Linked DNA regions of Homo sapiens: all the other regions are linked to region 4. Evidence: promoter capture Hi-C in 16 types of primary human blood cells and fetal thymus (Javierre and others, 2016). All regions are on one chromosome and are shown on one strand. The core of a region is centred on a gene start or on the middle of the fragment in contact, and the rest is flanking DNA. Distances in the headings are between cores, read along the strand shown.

Region 1 (3,416 bases), core at 331-2,830, 380 kb after region 4:
TTCCTAGTAGAACTGTGAAAAGACAGCCACCATCTTTCAGACCTCAGAATGGTAGATCCATTGGCAGCTTGCTCCATGCACCTTGAAAAGCCACAAACACTTAATGCCAGCCAATGAAAGAAGCCACTGGGGCTGTAACCTGAAAAGTCACAGGGGTGGAGCTGCCCAAGGCCTTGGGAGTCCACCTCTTGCATCAGCATACCCTGGATATGAGACATGGGATAAAAGGAGACTATTTTGGAGCTTTAAGATTTAATGACTGCCCTACTGGGTTTTGGACTTGCATGGTGCCTGTAGCCCCTTTGTTTTGGCCAATTTCTCCTAAATGGGAGCATTTACCCAATGCCTGTACCCGCATTGTATCTTGGAAGCAATGAACTTGCTTTTTATTTTGCAGGCTCATAGGCAGAAGGGACTTAATTTGTCTCAGATGAGACTTTGGACTGTGGATTTTTGAGTGAATGTTAAAATGAGTTAAGACTGGGGAACTGTTGAGAAAGAATAATTGTATTTTGCAATGTGAGAAGGACATGAGATTTGGGAGGGGCCAGAGGCAGAATGATATGGTTTAGATTTGTGTCCCCAACCAAATCTCATGTTGAATTGGAGGAGGGGCCTAGTGGAAGGTGGTGTATCATGGGGGTGAATTTCCCGCTTGTTTCTCTCATGATAGTGAGTAAATTCTCATGAGATCTGATGGTTTAAAAGTGTGTGGCACTTCTTCCTTTGCTTTCTCTCTATCCTGCAGCCATGTGAAGAAGGTGCTGACTTCCTCTTCACCTTCTGCTATGATTATAAGTTTCCTGAGGTCTCCCAGTCATGCTTCCTGTACATCCTGAGGAACTGTGAGTCAATTAAACCTCTTTTACTCATAAATAACCCAATCTCAAGTAGTTCATTGTAGCAGTGTGGGAACAGACTAATACATGATTATATGCCAGATAACAGACAAGTAATACTTCTATTATTACTTGAGTTTAAGAGCCCTAGTTCACTCTGTGTTCTACCAAAATTCCTTTGTTTCATGTTTGAGAAAGAAACAGATTAAAACCATCATGTAGAAGGGAATTTATTTTCTAAAATCCTTATCCTTATACAGTAATTCCACCTTATCCTAAAGGGATGTGTTCCAAAGCTTCCATTGGATGTCTAAAGCTACAGATATGATTGAATTCTTTATATACTATGTTTTTTCCTATATATACATACTCATGCTAAAGTTTATAAGTTAGTACAGAAACAGATGAACAATAACTGAAAATAATATAGAACAGTTATAGCAATATACTGTAATAAAATTTATATGAATGTTGTTTCTCTCTCTCTCTCTCAAAGTATCTTATTGTACTGTACTCACTTGTTTTTTGACCTCAGTTGACCCTGAGTAACTGAAACTGCAGAATGCTCAACCTCCCCTGATGAGGTGGGACAACTGTACACAAATAATATGAATTCCTCTAAAGAGGATTAAGAGGTCAGGTTCTTTACATTTTGGTCTGCATCCTAGCATTTCCTCAAAAAAGTGTTTCAGGCATTGGAAAATTGTATTCTGGAAGAGGTGCTCTCCAATAGAAATATAATATAAGCCATGTATATAATTTTAAATTTTCTAGTAGCATCATTAAAAAAGAAACAAGAAACAGGTAAAAAGTATTTTAATAATATATTTTATTTAACCCAATATATCTAAAATACTATCATTTCAATATGCAATCAATATAAAATGATTCCTGAGATATTCTCCATCCTTTTTTTATCCAAATTCTTTGAAATCCAGTGTGTATTTCATACTCACATTTCAATTTGGACTAGTCACATTTCCATGCTCAACAGTCACATGTAGACACTGGTTAATATTGGTCTAGAAAACCCATCATATGAGAAGAAGCTATTTATTTTTCTTATGTCATGTATGATTTTGTTGAGAAGATATCAGCATCAGAGTCAATGGGTCTAGTGGTGCTAAGTTGAGCTGTAGAATTTGATAATGAATATTTATCAAGTTCTTAATGTGTTCTAAGCTTTGTTTTAGATACTGGGACTATAGTTGTAAATAAGAGTCAAAATTTACTCCCTTATGGAACTAACATTCTACTATGTGACACAGACAACAAACCAGACACATTTAATATAATCTAGGTTAAATGGTGGTAAGTGCTAAGGAAAAAATAAGGAGAGGTAAAGAGAAATAGAGAATGTTGAGACGGCAATCTAAGTTTTAGAAATAGTTGCCAGTTGCCTTCTTAATTAAAAGGTGACATTTAGTTAAAGACCCTCTGGCAATATTCCATGAAAATTATGACCTTGGATAACTTGGATTTTTAAGTAAACATTGTTGAAATGTATAGGTGAGTTTTTCTCTTAGATTTAAAGGTTTCAGGCCAGGTGTGACTCTCAGGTGAACTTGAGGAAGGACTGTCTAGAGGTCTGAGCCCTCAGAAAAGAGGCTATGTAATGACTTCATAGGACAGTAAACATAAGTGAACATGTTAATGAGACACAGATGGAACAAAATTCTCATGAAGAAAAGTTTCAAGGTGGTAACGAAATTTTGACTTAGCGTCATATTATATTGGACAATTTGGAATCCCCACTTTAACCTTATATTTTGATAAACTTGCTTTGCAGGTTTCAATTCTTCTTACCATTATAAACTTCTTACTTTTGTTTTGTTTTTGAAAGTCAGTACAGAGCCTTGGCAGTGTCATACAGAAGCTCTTGTGTTACAGGTCCCTTTACTTCTAGATTAGTGGGTTTCCCCCTTTCTCTGGTGAATACAAGATGAGTTACCCTCAATGAGGCTCATAAGCAAGTGTGTCTTTTGAACTGAAATGGTGTTCAGTGGGTGCCCTGTGCAACTGTGGCCTCAAAAATAGTTGTAGGGTGACCCTGACTTACTCCTTTCTAGGTTTCCCCTGGACTGAGCACTATGAGGAGAGAGACCTCATTGCATTCCCCACTCCTTTTCTCTCCTTGCTGAGACTTGGTCCAGAACCTCACATCCTATACAAACAGTACATGCTGAGGGCAGATGTGCTTAGAACACCTCCCTGAACTCTCTCAAACTCTCTTCAGTGCTTCACGACTAACACCTCAATAGTGAGCATTCCTCACTGAGTGCCCTCAACTCTTTTTGTTTCATCTGCTTGTTAGTTTTCATAAGTTAAATGTTTGCACTGTACTGCTGTACTATCTTTTAATGAAAATGGTTCCAGGCTATTTTATTTAAAAACATAGGCTCATAGAATGCTCATTTCAGGAAACAAAAAGGAGTAATTCTTCTGAAATTCCTGTAAGAGTATATGGGATATGGTGATAGGAAGAAACCCACTGGGTTTAGCCAACCAGGGCAATTTACTGAAAAAGAGCCTTGGGCAGAAAGAGCCCCACTGAAAGTAGCAGTACAGGAGAATGCC
Region 2 (3,396 bases), core at 181-2,680, 470 kb after region 4:
AATGTGAACACATAGACACAGGAAGGGAACAACACACACTGGGGTCTGTCGGAGGGGGAAAAGCATCAGGAAATACAGCTTATGCATGCTGGGCTTAATAACTAGGTGATGGGGTGACGGGTGCAGCAAATCACCATGGCACGCATTTACCTATGTAACAAACCTGCACATCCTGCACATGCACCCAATAACTTAAAATTTAAAAAAGAGAAAGAAATCACAGCCAGTTCTCATTTGTGCTGAGGGGAATTCAGCAGGGGTAACCAAGCAGAAGCCAGGGCTCCCTGCTGAAGCCACAGTGCAGGTGTTAAATGTTTGGTGATTGCCCTAGTAATGCACTGTGTGGAGAGGCTAAAAACTGCTTTCTCCTTTGAGATCTCCTTGATGCCTTATCTTTCCAGGCTAAGTCAATCCCCCATTTCCTCCGAAATGTGTGTGATATTCTGAAGTGGAAATACTCTGAATTCCAGTTGCAGCTAAGGGCTTACTTGAGCATAGAAGAGGTTAAGTCTTCCGACTTAGGTCTCCTTTGTGGCTATTTGAAAAAATTCAGAGATGAGGATCTCCTTGGGTTCAGGAGATTGGTTTCCCAGGGGGACACCCAGAATCAGATTCCTGCACTGAGCAGACTTTGCATGGCTTCCCATGACCTGCTGCTATCTCAAGAATTTTTAAGTACTCAGAGAATGCCTTCTTGTTTATAGTGAAAAATAATTCAAGGTTTGAGGGATTTATTACTCAAGGCTGAAGGATAAACCTCTGCATTCTTCATTTCGGACCAAGGTGGCTCTCCCTAGAGGCTCTCAGCACCCTTGTTTCTTCTGGGCCGCACACTTCTTTTTTCAATAAGCTTCCGAGGCAGATAAGAAGAGGTGACCTCTGTCTCTACCCACTCTTCTGAAAGGTGGAGTCCACAGAACAAGTCTTGCATTTATATGAAATTGAAATCATTCATTGTTTAAAAGGCATTTATTGAGCATCTGCTGTGTGCAAAATATTGTTCTTTATGTTGTGAAAAATACAAAAAATAAAAACCCAAAACAGAAAACGACCAATCAGAATACATTATCTCTTTCCTCAAGGAGACAATACAGGAGAGAGGAAAAAGATGAATAATGTTACATCTCAAGCCAAAAGCCTGGACACTACCTTGTGAACTCCAAGGGAGACATTCAAGGGTGTGGAGAAAGCCCAAACATGCGAAGGCAGAATGTATACTTTATTTATCTCTGGGGTAAACAAAGACATGGAGGCAAAGATATTTTGTAGGATAGTTCAGGCTGAGTCCACAGCACACATGTTGTGGAGTGCTGGGAAATGAGATTGAAGGTGGAAATGGTAGACTGAGGCTATGCTGTGGCATGTTTTGGATACAGAATAATACTGTCCTGCCCAAAATCAGCATTCTTTGATTGCATGAAGAAAGTGGAATTTTATGATTAATCTGGTGCAGTTAGTAGGAAATCAGAAATAGGAAACTGACGCAGCATGGTCAGTGATGATAATTTTAATACACGTATTAACTGGTTAATCTTCCTAAGTCATTTATAATATATAGGGAAGACATTGTCTACACTTTACAGATGAATACATTGAAGGTCAGAGGGGTTAAATGACTTGTTAAAAGTTACACATAAGAGCCGGGTGCGGTGGCTCACGCCTGTAATCCCAGCACTTTGGGAGGCTGAGGTGGGCGGATTGCCTGAGGTCAGGAGTTCAAGGCCAGCCTGGCCAACATGGTGAAACCCCATCTCTACTAAAAATACAAAAAACAAAAAAAATTAGCCTGGTGTGGTGGCACACGCCTGTAATCCCAGTTACTCAGGAGGCTGAGGCAGGAGAATTGCTTGAGCCCGGGAGGTGGAGGTTGCAGTGAGCTGAGTTCATGCCACTGCACTCCAGCCTGGCCTACAGAGTGGGACTCTGTCTAAAAAAACAAACAAACAAACAAACAAAAACAAAAGTTACACATAAGATAAAAGGACCAGCCTTCACTTAGACCCAAGCTTCTTTACTCTCTGTGTGTCTTTGGTATTCCAAGTCCATCTTGTTCCAGAAACAACTAATCAGACCTCTTCTAAAATGTTCTGTAAAATTTAAGTTTTTGCAAACATAAGGTGGCTCTTGATCCACAGAGGTGGGAGGTGGGCATAATTATGCAAGATATCTTTGCAGAGATTTTTTAAAAGCAGAGGAAATATATGCTGACTTTCTAAATTCCACCTTTTTATTTTTTAGGCAAGGTCTAATTCTGTCGCCGAGGCTGGAGTGCAGTTATATAGCTCTCTGTAGCCTTAACCTCCTGGGCTCAAGTTATCCTCCCACCTCAGCCTCCCGAGTAGCTGGGACCATAGGCTTGCACCGCCATGCTGGCTAACGTTTGCATTTTTTGTAGAGATGGGGCCTTAGCATGTTGCCTGGGCTGATCTCTTATTCCTGGACTCAAATGATCCTCCTGCCTTGGACTCCCAAAGTGCTGGGATTACAGGTGTGAGCCACTGTTCCCAGCCTAAATTCCACTTCTTGAATAGTCCTGTCCATTTCAGTGTCTTGTGATGAAGAGATTTTATTTGAAGACTAGTGAAAATATAGCGAAATTCATTCAGTGCTGAGATACTCCCTGCTAGTGAGTAATTTATAAAGGCAAGTTATTTTTCTTAGGCGAATAGGATGTGACTGAACAATTATTATAACACTTCTGTGTTCATAGATCCAAAGCTACAGCTTTTCTTATTGCTAGAGGTGGGATGTCACATCGTTGTAACTTGGCAACGGATAAGTTTACCAAGTTCTATTCAACATAACTTTTTTTTTTCTGGCTTCATTTATGATGCAAGGGACTGTTGGGACTCCAGGAGGAAAAAGACTTTTTATCTAGAGAAAAATTTAGCTTATTTAGAGTCAGTTCTCTCTGGGGTTTTAGGAAAAACATCCAGAGTTGCCATGATTTGCCTCTTCCAATACTTCCTGGTTGTAAAACTTTCTTTTTAAATAATCTCTCCTACTCTTCCTCTTCTCACCCTACACTGTGCCCACCATTACAGATATATGGATATAAACTCAAGGCGCACATGAGCTGCTGAGACAGGGAGAGAATTCTATTCATTTGGCAGAAGTGGATTAAGGAAGAGACAGAGGCAGTCGGTTCCTACGACACTCACCAGAGGCTTGTTTTCTGGTTTTCAGTTTCCCTTTCCTTCTTGTTTTTTTCTTGGCCCTTTCACCCCCTCACCAAAATTATTTTTGTTTCACGCCATTTTGGATATTGTTCCCTCTCTGTATTCTGGTATATTCCCAGATCAAGTCAACAGCTAAGCAAATATCTTGTAAGTCATTTTCTCCTTATTGTGAATTCCAGGGACTGAAAGACCAACATGAAAAGATTCCAGACACCAG
Region 3 (3,336 bases), core at 147-2,646, 410 kb after region 4:
GAAAATCCAACCTTCTTTCATAGATATTCCAGAAAGAGTGCACAGGGAATAGTGAAGAAGCAATATTTGATAAGCTAATTAATGAGAATTTTTCAGATTTGAACACATGAATATTCACATTTAAAAAGTGCCCAAAGTATAGAGGCAAATTTTTAAAAGTCCACATCGTAGGCATTACAATAAAATATAAGAATATCAAAGATAAACAAAGTATTAAAAACTACAATGGAGAAAAGAAATATTACGTATAAAGGGAGAATATAAAACTTCTCCTAAAGAACTCTGAGTGATAGAAAAAAAGGAAAGGATATGTTTAATGTATTAAATAGCTTTGAAACTAAAATTATATACCTACCTAATTGAGCCTTAAAATGAGAAAAAGATAAAGAAATGTTTAGACATCTAAAAATTAATAAAGCTTCAGTTAAAGAACTATTAAAGTTATACTATGGCAAGAAGAAAGTAAATTAGGAAGAGAAAAAATGGATTGCATAGAGAAATGGTAGATAAAAATATTGGTTAAACATTAATTAATCTAAACTTGTATAGAATGTAAAAATAATGGTTTCTGCTTAAAATAAGAATTGAAAGAAAACATTAGACAGATACAGCTTAGAAGACGCAAAGAGAGGGTTTAGGGGGAATATTAATGTACTCTAAAGTCACTACTTTCTTCACAAGGAAGATAAAAAACAATTTTTTTTGTTAGAAAAAGTAGAAGATCCAGTTGTTAATTTTAAAAATGTAAACTCCAACAAAACAGAAGTAGAATGTATGTCTTTCAAGTCAGTAAAGGAATAAAAGAAAGTAAAGAAAACTCTATTGAATTTCCAGTCAAGATGTAGTGTTATTTTCAGCCCTATTACATGGTACAGTAGACTAGGAGTTAGAAGTCAGAAGACCCAGCTCTGGTCTTGGCACTGCCCATAAATAGCTGTATCTGTTTAAATGAGACACTTTCTCTTAAAAATAGTTTCTTCCTATAATAAAATATTTTTTTTTTCTGAAGAACAACAGCAAAAAGATCTAGTGTTATTTTAGGCCAGGCATGGTATCTCAATGCCTGTAATCCCACCACTTTGGGAGGTGGAGGTGGGCGGATCACCTGAGGTCAGGAGTTCGGGGCCAGCCTGGCCAACATGGTGAAACCCTGTCTCTACTAAAAATACAAAAATTAGCCAGGCGTGGTGGCAGGCACCTGTAGTCCCAGCTACTCAAGAGGCTGAGGCAAGAGAATCACTTCAACCAGAGTGGCAGGGGTTGCAATGAGCCAAGGTTGTGCCATGGCACTCCAGCCTGGGCAACAAGAGAGTGACTCTGCCTAAAACAAACAAACAAACAAAAAAACATACTGTTATTTTATAATTCAAGAAACCTTCTGTGTTGCTAACACTTAGCAGTAGCAGATAAAATTAAAATAGCTTAACAAGAAAGAGAGAAAGCAGAATAAACATGTATAAAGAGAGTTTAGAAATCAATGAGAAAATAATGAGCAGTGACCTGGCTGAAGTCTGAAGTCTGCTGTGTATGACAGCATGGGGTGGAGTGGGAACATTTCTTTGTGTTTTTAAAGCTCATTTGGGGTTCTGGGGATTGCGATTGCCCTATGCATTGTGGATGCCAGAGCATTGCTTAGGATTTAACAGCAGAGGTGGGGCAAAAAGCTCATGAAAGAAGAATGAATAAAAATAGCTCTATTTGCTGTTTATGACTTAAGCATAGGAATGGGAAGACAGTCACTGTCAGCTGCTCTCTGGCTCATGAACTAGGTTGTAAATTTCACCAGTATCACAATGGAACAGTGTGTGTGAACTGCTAATATAAACTCTGCTTCTTGAAGGGAGTCCCAGGGGTTCCATGGGCTTAAACCCCATACTGCTAGGCAACAAGGATGTGATAGGGGAAGAGAAATATGAAGCATGCTAATTTTTCTGTTATTGTCAGAGATAGACAGAGACATCAAAAAACGTGTTGTTAGGAAAAGAATGTGTATACGAGTATGTAAGTTAAAAATGTAAGGGTAAATTTTAACTTCCAGTAAAGTGGAATAATGAATGGCAAAGCAATGTTTCTAATAAATTATAACTTAAAAAGCCAGATTAAAATAAAAAAAACATTTAAAGGCAGGGAGCTGTGGATGCAACAAAGCTGTCAGAGAAGAAGGTTCTGGAGAGGAGGAATTGCAGGGAGGTGAGTTGATCATCTGCAGCTACTTTGGGAAGTAGTTTCTGATTCTGGTGCAGATAAACTTGTTGTTTACCTGAAATTCAAATTTAACTGGGTATTCTGTATTTTTTTTTTTTTTCCTAGCAACCCTGGGCTTGAGTCAGGGAAGTGACGTATGGCTGGAGACAGAGTAATTATCGAAGCTTTGGGCTACAGTGACAAGACGGAGGTGCCTAAAACACACATCTAGACTAGTCGTTGATGTGGACACTGAATTACAAAGCCGTGTGGGATGGAACACTAAAAAGCCAAGTCAGAAACCTCTAAAAAGGAGAGGATTTCACTCTGCTAATGAGAGAAGACAAATCTAACCAGAAGAGGAGACCCGGTGAACACACAAGCTCTTGGTTAAAAGCCCCGATTAACACCATAAGAAAGAGGTGAGCTAGAAATAGGCTTAGCCTTACTAAATTTAATATGAAGTCTTAAATCAGCTCAGTCTCTACTGAGCTGATCGGCACCCCTCACACTATATTTGCCTACCATTATAAAAAGGGTTAAAGTGATCCGTACGTACTCTACCTGCCTACGAGAAAAACAAACCAACAAACAAATGACAACAAAATCAAGACAAAACAATAAAGCCCTCTTTAGAGGAAGAAAACACCATCTAAAGCAATAGAAACATACCCCTAAAGATCCAGGATTGGACTTATCAGACAGGGACTATGAAATATTATGATGATTACGTTAAAAAAATGGAGGGTAAAATGGAGAATTCCAGCAAAAACTTCAATCCATGAATACAAATCAAATGTAAATTCTAGAATTGAAAGACATAATAAACAAAGTTAAGAATAGATGGCTCTGATGGAAAATTAGACACAGCAAAAACAGAAGATCTTTAAACTGGAAGACAGAATAATAGAAAGTATACAGTTTGAATGCCAGCAAGAAGACAGGGTGGCAACTGAAGTAAAGAGCATAAGAGATATGTAAGTCATGGTGGAAAGAGAAAAAAAAAGACTGACATATCTGTTCTCAGAGTCCCAGAAGGAGAGGGGGAGGAGTATGAAACAGAAGCAATATTTGAAGAAACACTGGCAGAGAATTTTCCAAACTGACTAAAGACATGAAGAAAAATATTCAAGAAACTCAGCAAGCCCTATT
Region 4 (3,577 bases), core at 799-3,298:
TTCTCGAGGCCTGCCATGCCAATCCCTGTGTGTATCTAAAGAGGTTAGCACATCCTGGGTACACAGACCACAGCTTCCTCCTTTTGCTCAGGGCCTGTGCGTAGAGTTTAAGCAGTGTGGAGATATTTCTTCACTTTTCCTTAGGGTGTCCACATCAAGACCCTGAGGCCATCTTACCACCCTTCTGGATCAGAAGAGGCCTTCAGAGTAAGTGGTAACTGTCCTGATTGGGGCGAGGGAGTTTTCTAGAGGGGAGCATCTCATTACTAAACCCAGAAATACAGAGACACTTGCATGAACACATCAACAGGAAGCAGAGAAACAGGCATAAAATGGCCCAATGACCCCCACTCTCGGGTCTTTGCAGGAATCCCCTCTCACCTACTTCTCACCTACTCACTTTGGGTTTGAGGAACCCAGGCTCTTATAGGCTCTTATAGCTCCCTTTAACCCATCACAGTCAGTTATCTCATCTCCAGATTTGCAAGTTCCTTCGGTTGGTGTCTTTTACCTAAGTCAGCATATTTCAAACTTTCATAAAAAAAACTTAGAAAATAAAAACCACGACCCCACCCAGAAGATAAAAATCTCTTGAATTCTCTGAGCCCAACATCTTAGCCTTCTCTTGCTGAGCCCTGAGCAGGGAGTCGATTCTTTCGGGTTCTGGGGAATGGCGGGCTCTGCCAGTCCCCACCTCGCCAGCCTAATAGTTTTTCCAGACAGACTCCCGCTTGGTGTTGCGCGGCAGCCTCGAAGCTAACCCCTGGTCCCATTCATTCCCCTAGGTCCTCTAAGGCCCGTCACGTTAGGGGGTGTCCCTCCTCTCTGCTCCTGGCCCTACTTGGCGAACCCTTTCAGAGACAGCAGTCAACTTTTCTGAAGTGAGACGCGAACCCAAACCCTCACCTTTCCGCCTGGGTTGCACTTTGCAACCTAGACCCAGGCTTGGCGGCGGCGGCTGGGGTGGGAATGGCCGGGCGGGCGCGGGGCGCGGGCTCACAGCCGGCCCCTGCAACGGAGGCGGCTCCGAAGGACGCAGGACCCTTTCGGAGGCGACAGCTCCAGGAGCCCTGGTCCTGGAGCCGGCGCACGCCTAGGCGCGAAGGGCGGGGGCTCGGGGCGCTAGGGATCTGTGCGGACGGGGGCTGGGGAAGGTTCCCCGCCGGAGAGGCGGCGAGGCCGGCCCAGGAGTCCCGCGGAGCCGGCGGCTCTCCAGCGCCTAGAGCCGGGCGACTGAGTGCCGAGAGGAAGGGAAAGCGCTGACATGTAAACAGGGGCTTCCATCTGGAGGAGCCCGCTCAGATAGATCCCCCGACACACTCACTTGCACCCCTACCCTCGTGCAACGAGGCCACTTACCCACCCCAGGGCCCACCAGGCAGGGACCCGAGCCCGGGCGACTGCAGCCCCCGCCCCCGCCGTGTTCCGCCTCTGCGGAGAGGAAGCCCAGTGCCTAGCGCTGGGGCCACGGGAGCCCCGGGTGTCGGTGGGAGTGGTGGACCCCGAGGTCTCTCGCCCTTGACTCCGTTCCGTACCCTGGGGTCCCCCGGTTTCCCGCCGTCCCCTCCTGCAGCCCCGGCGGGCAGCGAGGTGGGAGGGGGGCCGGGGCTCCACTTTGGGGGCTGGGATTTCGGGGGAGGGTCGCCCTCAATGCGGGCGCCTGGCCGGCTGGCCCGCGAGTAGGACTCGCCACCCGAGCGCCGGAGGAGCCGGCGCGAAGCCGGGGCGCGGAGGGAAGGGAGAGAGGCCACGTCTTCCGGGACGCGGGCCCCGCACCTACCCGCCCGCCGCTTCGCCTCCCCGGCCGGTCCCCGCCGCCCGCGTCCGTTGCCCCGCCGCTTACCTTAATAGTCCCGTCCATTTGGCCAAGTCTGCAGCCGAGCCCCCCAATATTCCACACATTGACCCGGTTACAGCCTGACCTCGCAGCCCCTTCGGATTAGCCCGGCGCGGCCTCCCTGGCGCCCTGGGCCCTCCCTGCGTGCCCCCTGCGAGCGCCCTGCCCTCACTCCCCTGTGCACGTTTGTTGTTGTAGCGGAGCGAAAGAGACAGTTAACCGGATGAAACTTTTTTTTCAGCTAATTTTGGGAAGTGACTTCACTTTGCGAATCGGGGAGGAAGTCCTATCTCTCTCTCTCTCTCTCTCTCTCTCTCTCTCTCTCTCTCTCTCTCTCTCTCGCCTCGAGCTCTCCTCTCTCTTCTCTCCCCTCTGCTCTCCCTCGTCTTCCCTCCCCCCCCACACCCCCTCTTCCTCCCCTGCTGGTCCTGCTTTTCGCATCACACACTATATAAATATACGCGGAGATGCCCAGACACATTCATGCGCTGCGCACACAGGATACTTGCTCCTGGGAGATAAGAGCTAGCCGGGAACAATGACGGGGTCCACGCCCAGCGTCCGCGCCCTGATTCCCGAAGTCTGAACCTCCCCCCATCACCTTCCCCCAAAATCCAAAGCCAAAGACCTTTGGCTTCTTTGCTTTTCCTGAGGCGGTTGGCCGAAGGTGGCCCTCCTGACTCATTCACTTTCCGTTTCTTCCCACAGATACGTTCATTAATGCTTTTTCCAGCCGGAGACAAACTTTTTGGGGGTGGGGTAGGGGGGGTATGGAGGGAGAGTTGGCTAGGGCTGCGGGTAACCCAGCGCCTACTGCCGGGGAAGACTCGGACGAAAACCGAGGCAAACCAACCATTAAAAAGTGCATCCAATAAGAATTTTTCCACTCAGGCCCTCCGCTGCCGAGACGCGGCAGACTCCCAGAGCGGCTCACCCACTCATCGAAGCGGATTCTGGGCGGTTTCGGGCTGACCCGCGCTGTCAGGGCGCGGACTCCATTCCGGGCGCATTGTTAGGAGAAGGGGCCCCTCGGGGCGGCGCGCCTCGACCCTGGGCTCCCGGTGCCCGCAGAGGGCGGAGATCCGCGGCGCCCTAGGCCACCTATCCGCATCTTCTCGAGCCAAACCCCCAGCGCTTACCCGGACCCGACGGCCCAAGCACTGACTCCCAGGCAAGAGTCGCCCTTCCTGGTCCCCAGGGAACTGACACTACCGCGGGACGTTCCCTCTAGGACAGTCAGCAGGTCCCAGGAGCGCAGCACGCAACAGCGCAGAGCAGACCCAGACTTTTCCCGGGGTGAGACCCGGAGGCCCGCGCTCTGGACCGTCCTCCCTACCCAGCCTGGAGGCCGGCGTTCCCCGGCCCAACCCGGAGACCTCCCCGCCTCCCTCCTGGGCCGCCGCGCGCCCCAGTTGGAGCAGCCTCGAGGGGCTGGGCCCTTTCGGCCGGACTCCCTTCTCCCGGACATCCAAAACAGGTTACCTTGTCCACGCTCTCCGGACCACGCTTTGGACTTGCTCACTTTTATTTAAGAGTCCGACGGGGGAAAGAGGGAAAAAAAATCCAGAGGAGATCCAAGTCAATTGGAAGAAAAAATTTCAAAAGGGTGTCCACAGAGGCGAAAAAAGGTGACTTATTAATTCTTTATTTCTTCAGGAGCAATTGAGCCCGAGAGCTCACTCGTCTCCCTCCCTCCCCCTCCCTCTCTAGAAATTAGTCTCATCAATTCGGCTCCAATTT
Region 5 (3,735 bases), core at 918-3,417, 330 kb after region 4:
ACTGTATAGTAGGTGGTCAAAAATATGGGTTTGGATTTTGCTTGAGAAAAGATGGGATTGTTTGATACCCTGCATACTATCTTTTAAAAAATTTTCCTCCTACTTTCATGTTTCTTGTTGTGTTTTTTCCCCCTTATTTAAACTACTTCTTATATAATTACTGAGTTTTCTAGGTATTTTGTAATTGGAAGGTTTTCAGATAATCAGTTTGATATGTTGTTGGAAGTGGCTTTGGCATTCATGGGCACTTAATAATAACACTATTAGGTAAGTGAATAAACCAAAGCTGAACATAAGGATTGCACATAAGGGGAAGATTCAGATGAAAGTCTCGGCAACATGGGCTGATAGAAAAGTCTAAATAAGTGGAAGGCAACCAGTGCTGGGCTGGGTGACAGAAAGTAAGGGGGGTGCTGTCACATGGTAGAAGTGGTCCCTCTGATGGGGGTCCGCAGGTGAGCAGGAAGAGGTGTGAGAGGGGAGAGGCATTTGGAAGCTCTCAGGTCACTTTTAAGTAAGCAGTTTCCATCAGTGATGGGAGCAGAACCTAGATTATGAAAGATTGGGGAATGTGTGGGAGGAGATTAGAAAATAGGAGCTGGGAACAGTAACTCATACCTGTAATCCCAGGACTTTGGGAGGCCCAGGGGAGAGGACTGCTTGAGCCCAGGAGTTTGAGATGAGCTTGGGAAACATAATGAGACCCCATCTCTACAAAAACATTTAAAAAATTAGCTAGGTAGGGTGGCACATGCTTGTAGTCCCAGATACTTAGGAGGCTGAGGAGGGAGGATTGCTTGAGCTCAGGAGGTGAGAGAGAGAGAGAGAGAGAATAAAATAGGTATGATTATCTGAAACCTTTAAAGCTTTATGCCATTTATCACCATTGCATAACTTACAGGTGATTATAATAACATAAGAGGCTGTGGTGAATGAAGCTATTAAATTAGAACAATTTTAATTTAAATGTTAAAATGCATACAACATTGAAATGCCAGTGCCCTAATGAGGCAAGAGCCCTTTAAGCAAGAGGGTTTGGAAGGTGGTTTATAGAGACATCCCTAGAATCTTTTAAGGACCATGAAATATTTATTCAAAAAGTTGTCATAACTCAATTTTTTTCGGGAATATTTAGTTCCACTTAATGAATGCATTAAGCTCAGCTGTGTTTCTCAAAGAGCCAGCTGAAGGAAGTACAGAAGTGGGAACAGAAAAACAGAAATAGAAGACGAGCAAAGGTGAGAAAGCAAATGCAGAGCAGGAGGGGTGATGGCAGCTTCACACTGCTCATAGCGTTTGTTTATTCTCGAATCCCGGGAGTAGGTGATTTATTAAATAAGGCCCTCTGCAATCACACCGCCAACCTCTCCACTAAAAATAGCAGTGGGCTGGTTTGAACTTCATGTCAACCTCATATAAACTGGCATCAGTTGTGTCTGCTGTCCTTTGACGGTGTGAGGATTGGGACTCTCTGGGGCTGTCCATCCCTGTGCGCACCTTGGTTGTGGGGCCAGTACACTCCCTTCCGCCCACTTCTCATCAGCCCAGCAGAGTCCAGTTCCTGGTGGGCTGGGGAGCAACAAACAAGGCCAGGGTGCTGAGGACTCATTAGTGACCTGCCTGGCTGCCAAGTGTGCTGAGACATCAAGCTGCTTGTGGCAGTCTGTGGTTTGCTGGGAGGAGATTAATGAGGGAATAGAATAAACACGCACATTGGTTTCTGATAAGAGGAGGGCAGACATTTCAGGACAGGCATACAGCCTGCCTCACAGTCATCACTTCCCCTGGGGCCCATGTAAACACACACACTCACATGTGCTGATGCAGACTTCTTCTCAGCCCCAAACACAGCCAGCTGATAGGGAGGAAGGCCAAGATATAGGAAACATTTCTTTCCTCAGATCTTCAAACTCAATTATACCCATCCAAGAAACGAAATAGATCTTCTTATAACATGAGCTTAAAACTTGATTAACAGTAAGTTGAATTGGCAAACACATTTCTGCTGAGGATGTTGATTGGATAAAATATTTAAATGATTTTATACATGAAAAAATAGAGTTGGAGAGTATATGACTTATTTCAAGATTATCCAACAGTAGTGCTAATGTTTCTTTGGGAGACATGGACATTTTTGTGAATCTGATGAAAGCTAGAGACAGTGTCCCCAGAAAAATGAGTGCATGCATGCGCGCACACACACACATACACACACAAACACACACAGCTAGAAAGAGATAGAGACAGAGACAGAGATAGACCTACCGATGCCATTTCAGGAGGGTTGTATTGTCTCTGAAGCTCATTTATGGACTCCAAAATGGGTTCAGAATAAAAATCCTGGCCTAGCATATCATGGAAAATCTCACGTGGGTTAGAGAAATCTGAAAATTTGGTGAGAGTGCCCTACTAAGAATTTTGCTAGGTACTTGATGGATATTATTTCTACTTTTAATAACAATTGTGCAAGGTAGGCACCATTTACCTCCCTTTTACCAATGAGAATATTGTGACTGAGAGAAGCAAACTGACTTAGGGAGACGGGGTTTCCTAGTGCTTAGGAGCCTGGGCTCTGATGTCAAATTACATGGGTTCTAATTCTGTTTTTTCCACTGATCAGTTAGAAGATTCCAGACAAGTTTCCCATCCCTTTGTGTCTCAGGTTCTTCAGCTGTCAGTGGGAATAATGATGGAACTTATTTCATAGGCTCTTATGAAGATTAAATAATATAAGACAAGCTAAGTGCTTAGAACATTGACCTGGGCACAGTGAGCATGAGATACATTTTGTTGTAATCGCTGTTTAGGTCAAGGATCATAAAGCTATAAGTGGAGGAACCAAAAATCAAACTAGGTTTTGTCTGGCTGGAGCCTGTACACTTTCCTCCACACCTCGCAGGTTTCTAAAACCTGTTTTACATTTGGCCTTTGGCAAATCATGTAATGTTTCCAAACTTGAGTTTCTGCATCCATAAGATATAGGCAATGATAATAATAATAAAACACCTTCCTACTTTTTTGGAAGGATTAAATATGACAACAATAAGTACATTTTAGTAAACTGTCAGGTACTGTGCGAATATCCAAGGTTGTTACTATCAATGATGAAAGGATAAATCTAACTCAAAGGGCTTTGTGTTTTCACTTCTACACTTATGTTCATAGAATTAAATCTGTATCATGTGCAATCACCTTCAGATCTATCTTGGATTACACAAGTCATTGGGCAGGGGGTGGTCATGGTTCTGAAACAAAAATTCTATGATCTTCGTGACTGTTAAGGAGATAAGGTAGGGTTTAACCACCCCACTGGACTTTCAATAACATTTGGCTAAGGTAGGAAGAAAAAACACACACACTAAATGATTTTATTAAAACAAGTGTTTGAGGGTCACATTTATGTTTATTCCAAAATTGAAAGAACATAGTAGTAGCCAACAAGTTCATTATGTTGGCACAGAAGCTTATACTTTTTTAAACATCAAGTTCATTGTCCTCAGCTGGAATGCATGATTTCGGTTACTTTTCAAAAGGTCAGTTTATTTCTGTGAGTAATATTTCTGCAATGCTAAGAATCAGAGGCCAAAAGGGGAAAGAGGACAGGGCCTGTGGAACAGATTATATTCCTGTCTGCGATCCCTTAGGGAAACTTAGAAACCAGAGATTAGCTGTCCTAAAGTGGAGACTTCCACTCTGGAATGGCATTACGATGTTGAAAGAGACCCATTTAATCAA
Region 6 (3,360 bases), core at 709-3,208, 430 kb after region 4:
GATGCTTCAATCGCTATTTTTTTCTGTTTTTTTTTTTTTCCAAACTTGTATAGCAATTATAACAAGAAGGCAATTACTTTTCACCCTGGGGAATAGATATTGGCACTAATCATGCAAATTAATTCTAAAGGTCAGATGAGAGTGTAAATGTGGGTCAGTACAAGCTGTAAAGCAAACATTTTGGCACTGGAAGGGGCAAATAAATTAGTGTTAGAGAATAGAGTCTAAAAAGAAATCTGAAAGTACATGAGAAATTAATATGTGATAAATATGTCTCAAAATCACTGGGAAATATATTAAATAATGTTGGAGATATTGGAAATAAACTTAGAAGAATATATCCTTAGGTTTTGATATTAAATGCTATACATAAAGGAAATTCTGGTTGGTTTATAATTTAAATTAAAAAATCTATAAACATAAAATATATACAATACATTTTTAATCTTGGATAGAAGGCAAAGGGGAAGACAATCTTCCTGCATATATGACATTCTTATATCTATTTTCCTATTATTCATCTGTCTATCCATCTATCTACCTGCCTACACATGCACACATTAGCATTTGTATGTGTGTTGCATCTATATTCATATTCAAAATTGGATTATTGGTGGCTTATTTTGTGTGTGTATTTGTACCTTTTTTAGATAAAGTTAAATCTATTCTTCATCTATTTGCTCTTAAAAATTTTATTGTTTAAAATATAATAGTTATACATATTTTGGGGGATAGATGGCATTTTGATACATGTGTAAATTGTGTGATGATCAAATCAGGGTAATTGGGAAACCCATCACACCAGACATTCATCTTTGTTGCAATATGGATAGACCTCGAGGTCATTATGTTAAGAGAAAAAAGCCAGGCACAGAAAGACACATACTGCATGTTCTCTTTCATGTGGAAGCTGACAAAAATGGATCTCATGGAGGTGCTGAGTAGAATGGCGGTTACCAGAGGCTGGGCAGGCTATGGAGAGGGCATGAAGAGAAGTTGGTTAATGGGTGCAAAAATACAGTTAGTCAGAAGCAATATGTTCTAATGCTCTATAGTACAGTAGGGAGACAATAGTTAACAATAGTTTCTTGTATATAAATTATCTATAATATAATCGTATTTGAATTGAAATATTCTCAACATAAACCTATATTTTTAAATGAACAAAAGTCATCAACAATATTCAGTCTGTGAACAGGTACCATGTCTTTATGTGCAGCTATTAAAAGTGGCCAAATACAGAGCCTCCTTTTGGACCGAAGTAATATTTTCCACAAACTGAAAAAGAACAGATGGCCCCGGCTTTCCTGCAGCAATTGAGCCCATTTCTGGATACACCAAGGGTGTTCCTCTGCCTACCTTGTTCTGTGTTCTTCATCTACCATCCCTGCAGACATAGCCAGAGTGGGATTCCCCAGGGCAGAACCTGACAATGTGCTTCTCATCAGTTAAAACTCGTGCAACGGCTTCTTTTCCGTCTCTCTCCTTCCCCATTCTCTACTCATGTTTTCTCTGACTTGGCACTTTCATGCATAAAACACTGTAATGGTAAGCTCAAGCTTAGTATACCAAATCTGTTTCTAAGAAGTGTTGAAGCTCAGTTGGGTGGGTTTATAAGCGCTTTGTGAAAATCCAAATCTTGGGGCTTAGAATGTATTCATTCTGTCTGAAGAGAGTTCATTTACCCCTTCTTCCCTTTTTCTCTGTCATTAGCCTTCCTTCCTCTAGCCCAGCCCCCCTCCCTATGTCCTGTTTCTCTTCACCACCTCTGCCCCCACTACTCTGCATACACAGAGATAGAAAAGGATGATTGTATTCACATGGCCAGCAGAGTCTGTTATTTCTACCGTGCGAAAGTCAGGAGTGAGCGATTAGAGTCCAGCAGATCAGAGGATGCACAGAGAGAAGACGGTGACGGACTCATATTTCTGGGCCATGGAAGTGGGAGATGGAGAATAAGAGGCATAGCACAGCAGATAGGAGACAGTTTTGGTTTGGATTTAGGTCAGGATTTAGGCATTTCCCACAAATGGGAAAGGGAAGACATTCTAACAAAAAGGATTCATTTAGATCAGGATGTGATCTTTTGGGTTGAGAATCAAAGGAGTCAAACTGTAGTGGCTGCCTGAAGGGATAAAGGGAGATGGAAATAAAAGCACTTTACTAATTCCTGCCACTGAAATGTGGTATTACTGTTTTTTCCCCATTGAGCTCCTGTTTATTTCCTCTCAGGTGAACCTCTTGTGCTACCTCTTATCCAATGATTGTCAGCTTCTTCAGGCTGGAAGTGTCATGTCAATCAGAAATAAATGGGGGTGGATGAAAGAAGAATTTGAAGCAGAGCTGTCTTAAGCTTTACTCACGCCGGACAATGTCCGAATCACTATGATTTTTTTTCAGAAGAGGAAATCTCAGTAATAAGTGGAAAAGGTACAGCAGTATTAAACAGGAAGGTTTCTTGTCATCTTTTCTAATGAGTTTCTTTGATCACTGGCTATGCTCTTCCCCGCTAAAACCTGCTACTCTGAAGGAACATGAGCTGTTGCATTTACCTCCTTGTTGTCCCATGGCTTCAGGGCCTGCAGTGGATGGAGCTGACTTCATTTCTTTCTTCTCAATGCTAGGGATGATTTCTATTATGTACTTCTTGTGAAGTCTTATGCCCTGATGGAGATCATGTATTTTCAGAAGTCGTCTGGGAACATAATTCCATATCCTACTGATGTTGCTGATACGAACAGAAGGCAAGGGAGATACTGGGTAGAAGAGGGCAGTTCCCCAGCAAAGCCTCAAGCCTGGAAACCTACGGCCCTAAATGGGAACAGGCATTCCTGTTTCTGCACCCAAACGTTGCCTTTTGGCCTGCCACGCCCCCCATCCTGTACCCATATAAACTCCAAACCCCAGGCTCCATGAGCAGAAGAGCAGAGGAATAGAAGAGTGGCAAGGCAAAGAAGGAGAGAAGAGAAGAAGCATCTGAATATCAAGAGGAGTTCAGCTGGGGGCAGTTGGAGAGAAGATCAGCCGCAGGCTGGCTGAACTCCAGGTGAAGATCTCATCTTCCCACTCCATTCCCTTTCATCCCGCTGAGAGCCACCTCCATCTGGCAATAAAATTCCCAGCATTTACCATCCTTCAATTTGTCTGTGTGACCTGATTTTTCCTGGATGCCAGACAAGAACCTGGCTACCAAGAGGGCACTGAGCTGGTTAACGTTTAAGCTGTCTGTGGATGTCAGAGCTAAAAGGAGCACTGCAACAAGCCCATCAAGGTTTCAGGAGTTGCAGGTACTCTCCCCAGACGCTACTGTGGGGCTGGAGCCCAAAAGTGCTCATCCCGGCTCCTGCGCCTGCCTGTCTG
Region 7 (3,530 bases), core at 237-2,736, 400 kb after region 4:
GCGTAGAATGGAACACTCTTATCTATTCATAGCTAGTGCTGAAGATGATGCCAGATAATACATAAACAGGCTAGGAGCACTGGATTGCACTAAACATTGTAGTATCATCAAGTTAAAAAATGAAAGGCAAATCAGAGGAGTAACGCCTTTGTGAACAGGCAAATGTCCCTTTCCACGACACTAAAAGCTCTAACCTTCCCATTTGCCCTTTTTCAGGAGACAATCATTCTAGTTTCATGCCCTTTATCATCTTAGTTGTTCCTACTGAGTGAAAAGTCATCTGGCGAGGTTTGCAACCTAGTACATTTCCTAAGAGGCTTTGTTCATGACAAGGCTGCTTTACTAATCTCAGGAAGCTTCAAGTTTTCTCAAATTTCCAGTTGTAAGTGAAAAATGTACTGGATTGTCTCCCTTTTATATGTTAAAATAATGAGGCATTATTTCAGCACCACCCTTCCCTGTTTCTTTGTTCTAAAAATATAACTCAAGGATTCTGCCAGGTGTTAATTAATCTTCATTAGTCTCTGGAGGGCAGGCAAAGACCTAAGAATTGAGAAATTAAAGCACAAATGTTTAAACAATTAGTATAGAGACTTATCCAAGGTCACCAAATGAGTAACAGAGAAAACGCAGAATCCATGGCTTTCTGATCTTGTCCCCAAAATCCCCCAGGAGAACCATCTTGCATAAATACTTGCATGGCCAACATTTGTAAGAGCAGATGTTTTATCAAGCCAGCTGTACAGCAAGGCCCACCCTTGCCTATCTATTCCTATCTGCTTTTATTATGCTTTGGGGCTCTCGCATGATAAGACCTCCCATATGGTACTTGTATTAACATTAAATAATGGCCATTGTATTGTGTATACTATCACCATAGAAATATTTACTTAGTTGAACACAGACACCGGTCAAGCATGGTGATTAAAAACAAGCTAATCATAAAAACCATTCATGCTCACATCTATTTATAAAATCTGTTTCACTTGTGCCAGTTAAGTATAGGCTTTGTTCTAAACAAACACACGCAAACCTTCTGCACACCCAGAACCATGAAAGGCACCCCTCCTCCCTCTGCAGAAAGCCAGGCTGTGGGGAATGGCCCTATGTGAAGCATCAAGCGTGTGTCTGAGGCTCAACTAGGCTCCTCTGCAGCTGGAGCTGGGCCTGCTGTTGACTTTTACTTTCTTGCTCCTTCATCTCCTCACACTGACACCCTGCCTGGGGTCTCTCAGCCCTCTCATTCTCAAACTACGGTGAGCTCAAAGGCAGCTGGGGTTTTTGTAGTAACTGCAGATACTCCAGATCCACTCATGAGATCTTGTTTGAACTGCTCTGGATGAAATCTAAGATATGATATTCTCAGGAAACACTCAGGTGGTTCTGGTCTTGGGGTCCACATTCTCCACTTGAGAAACGGCCTCTCTAGGGGCATTTCTTGGGACCTCTTGCCTCCTGCCACTCCTTGCCCACAGCAGTCATTGTGGGGTCATCGCTGACACTGCCGAGGGCTGCCTTTAATGCCCTTAAATTTTATTTCAATGGACACCAGTGTTTGTTATAAATGTGTTCCTTAAGTCGTGTGCAGTAAAGTGCATGAGAGCCTGGGCTTTGGAGTCAGAGAATTTGAGCTTTGCTTTGCACTTTGCTGATCATGTGGCCTGGTAAAAACTGTCTAACTCTTTGAGTCCCCATTTTTTTTTTTAACATTTAAAATGGGAATGATAATAGGACTTGCCTCACTGAGGTGATGTAAGGGTGGTGACAATAATACACTTAGAGGATGCAGTGCCTGGCACACCATTTAGGCTACCAACATCACCAGTTGGGAAATAAATTGAGTTGAACTGAGTGGTCCTTTTGGATCAAGGTATTAGAAAATGCCACCTCAGGAAATGTGATGTAAAGAAAAAGACAGAGATGACCTGAATTTGATACCCAGCTCTGCTACCAGAAGGCTGAGTGGCTTTGGCCACATCCTTCTTCCCCTCTGGAAGAAGTTTATAAGATGTTATCTATGAAATTAGGGGACAGGTCCAGAGCAGTGGTTTCCAAACATTATGAACAGGGAAATCCCTTCCAAATATCAATACAGTCATAAAACATACTATAGTTTTTATACTCATGATGGCTCATTGACACTTAATAGCAAAAGGATTTTATGTATTTTGTAATTTTAAAAAATGAATTTACCTTTATTAATTCCAGTCTCATTTACATTTATTTGGGAAATAGTCCTGCTGGTTTTGTATTTTGTATAAGTGGTATTATTTCTAAGACAACAACATTAGGCGAATCGTGAAAGAACTCCACTGCCCCTGGTAGTCACAGACTTTCAGAGTGGGAGCCCCTGGTCCAGACCATTGGTTTTTTATAGATCCCTCCTGTTAACAAAGGCAGTTGTGGAAACTCAAACTCTGAAACAGACACTCTCAGAACTGTTCTGGAAATAGGAGCTGAGGGCCTAATTTAGTTGTCTTCTTTCTCTTCCCTCACTCCTCATCTTCAGCCAGGAAAGATCTGCAAGGCAGTTTTGTTAATTTCCTAGTAACTGAGCACCTCCTGTAGGCAGGCACAGTGCTAGATGCATAGGTTATGTCAGAGAACAAAGCTTCATGCCATCGGGGGCTTCTTTCTAGTGGCCGCGTGCCTCTGAGGTCACTGGCCTGACTTGTCTCCATGTTGGCTCTTACTGTCTGATGCTAGATTCCTGGGCAGACCCAGGATAAATAAGTGAAGCTTGCCTTTGGTCACTGGCTCCTCTTTTGCCTCCTTCTTTTCTGTTTTTTATTGTTTCTTTCTCCACCTAGGTCACATTTTTCCAGGACCAGGAACTGTGTTTGTGATTAGGGACAAACATCTTTCTCCTTCCAGGCTTTGGTTCCCATATTTAGGAAACAAGGGCTGATCCCTAGAGCTACAAGACCCCATCTAACTCTGTAATTGAGTCTAATTAATTCAGCAGAAATAATAGTACCTCATTTAGCCCAACTCTCTTATTCTTCCCCCAGACACTCAAATAGACACTTGGTGGTTTTAGAAACAAGCCAGGCAATGGTAATTAACTTTGAGGCTGTGTTTGACGGGCAAAGTCTAACACTACTATCTCTTTCCAAATGTGAATATTTTAGTCCCTACAACAGACACCCAGGAATATTTTATCTTTAGGCCAAGCAGAGGGGATCTATGGAGAGTGATAGCTATGAAGGCCAAGTATTGGCATCAAGAGCTTCTGAAATACATGGCTGTTAGATGCAAGACAGAAAAAAAGAAATTGCTTCTCAACCCATAGCGCCAATCAAACTGCCCTATAATTCTTTTTCTTGTCTGGTATCCATGTGCAGAACTGTGTACTCAAGAAATATTTGTTGAATGAGTGAGCAGACTCTATTTCTGTTCTTCTTCTTCTTTTTTTTCTTTTTACTTGGTTCTACCCATCATTCATCAGCTGGCTCTGCACTGGGAAGGAAAGCACACTATATTGGGCAGATTAATCTGCAACAACAACAAAAAAAATTGAGAGTGGGCTG

The links. The method cuts DNA at HindIII sites, captures the fragments that hold promoters and counts their contacts. A CHiCAGO score of 5 or more calls a contact.
Region 1: a contact is called between a fragment that was not itself captured here and the fragment with the promoter of FLI1 in region 4, in 9 of 17 cell types (total B cells, activated CD4 T cells, fetal thymus and 6 more). The highest score is 10.0, in total B cells.
Region 2: a fragment that was not itself captured here is called in contact with the fragment with the promoter of FLI1 in region 4 in 5 of 17 cell types (total B cells, naive B cells, total CD8 T cells and 2 more); the score reaches 9.3 in total B cells.
Region 3: a contact is called between a fragment that was not itself captured here and the fragment with the promoter of FLI1 in region 4, in 13 of 17 cell types (activated CD4 T cells, total B cells, total CD4 T cells and 10 more). The highest score is 17.5, in activated CD4 T cells.
Region 5: a fragment that was not itself captured here is called in contact with the fragment with the promoter of FLI1 in region 4 in 4 of 17 cell types (total B cells, total CD4 T cells, activated CD4 T cells and 1 more); the score reaches 6.1 in total B cells.
Region 6: a contact is called between a fragment that was not itself captured here and the fragment with the promoter of FLI1 in region 4, in 10 of 17 cell types (activated CD4 T cells, total B cells, total CD4 T cells and 7 more). The highest score is 12.9, in activated CD4 T cells.
Region 7: a contact is called between a fragment that was not itself captured here and the fragment with the promoter of FLI1 in region 4, in 14 of 17 cell types (fetal thymus, naive B cells, activated CD4 T cells and 11 more). The highest score is 15.2, in fetal thymus.

Annotation. Positions count from the first base shown.
Region 1 is chr11:128,311,559-128,314,974 of GRCh38, reverse strand. All of the region lies in intron 1 of LOC124902787 (a long non-coding RNA gene), which reads left to right. Among named protein-coding and RNA genes, the nearest start is that of LINC02098, 100 kb to the right of the region's middle. The HindIII fragment of the contact is 886 bases long and covers 1,138-2,023 here.
Region 2 is chr11:128,219,716-128,223,111 of GRCh38, reverse strand. The region is part of intron 3 of LINC02098 (long intergenic non-protein coding RNA 2098); the gene reads right to left. Among named protein-coding and RNA genes, the nearest start is that of LINC02098, 13 kb to the right of the region's middle. The HindIII fragment of the contact is 1,156 bases long and covers 853-2,008 here.
Region 3 is chr11:128,278,373-128,281,708 of GRCh38, reverse strand. No RefSeq gene overlaps it. Among named protein-coding and RNA genes, the nearest start is that of LINC02098, 71 kb to the right of the region's middle. The HindIII fragment of the contact is 1,951 bases long and covers 421-2,371 here.
Region 4 is chr11:128,692,543-128,696,119 of GRCh38, reverse strand. It overlaps FLI1 (Fli-1 proto-oncogene, ETS transcription factor), which reads right to left and starts at 2,048. Exons shown (of 9, transcript NM_002017.5): 1 at 1,844-2,048. The coding sequence starts at 1,861. It overlaps SENCR (smooth muscle and endothelial cell enriched migration/differentiation-associated lncRNA), which reads left to right and starts at 97. Exons shown (of 3, transcript NR_038908.1): 1 at 97-207; 2 at 2,729-3,465. RefSeq lists silencers at 1,017-1,146, 1,197-1,416, 1,457-1,506, 1,727-2,096, 2,780-2,919 and 1 more and a cis regulatory region at 1,828-2,560. The HindIII fragment of the contact is 9,137 bases long and covers 1-3,577 here.
Region 5 is chr11:128,359,578-128,363,312 of GRCh38, reverse strand. No RefSeq gene overlaps it. Among named protein-coding and RNA genes, the nearest start is that of LINC02098, 150 kb to the right of the region's middle. The HindIII fragment of the contact is 2,597 bases long and covers 869-3,465 here.
Region 6 is chr11:128,261,096-128,264,455 of GRCh38, reverse strand. No RefSeq gene overlaps it. Among named protein-coding and RNA genes, the nearest start is that of LINC02098, 54 kb to the right of the region's middle. The HindIII fragment of the contact is 794 bases long and covers 1,562-2,355 here.
Region 7 is chr11:128,294,786-128,298,315 of GRCh38, reverse strand. LOC124902786 (a long non-coding RNA gene) reads right to left here. Exons shown (of 2, transcript XR_007062945.1): 2 at 2,167-3,530. Among named protein-coding and RNA genes, the nearest start is that of LINC02098, 88 kb to the right of the region's middle. The HindIII fragment of the contact is 2,255 bases long and covers 359-2,613 here.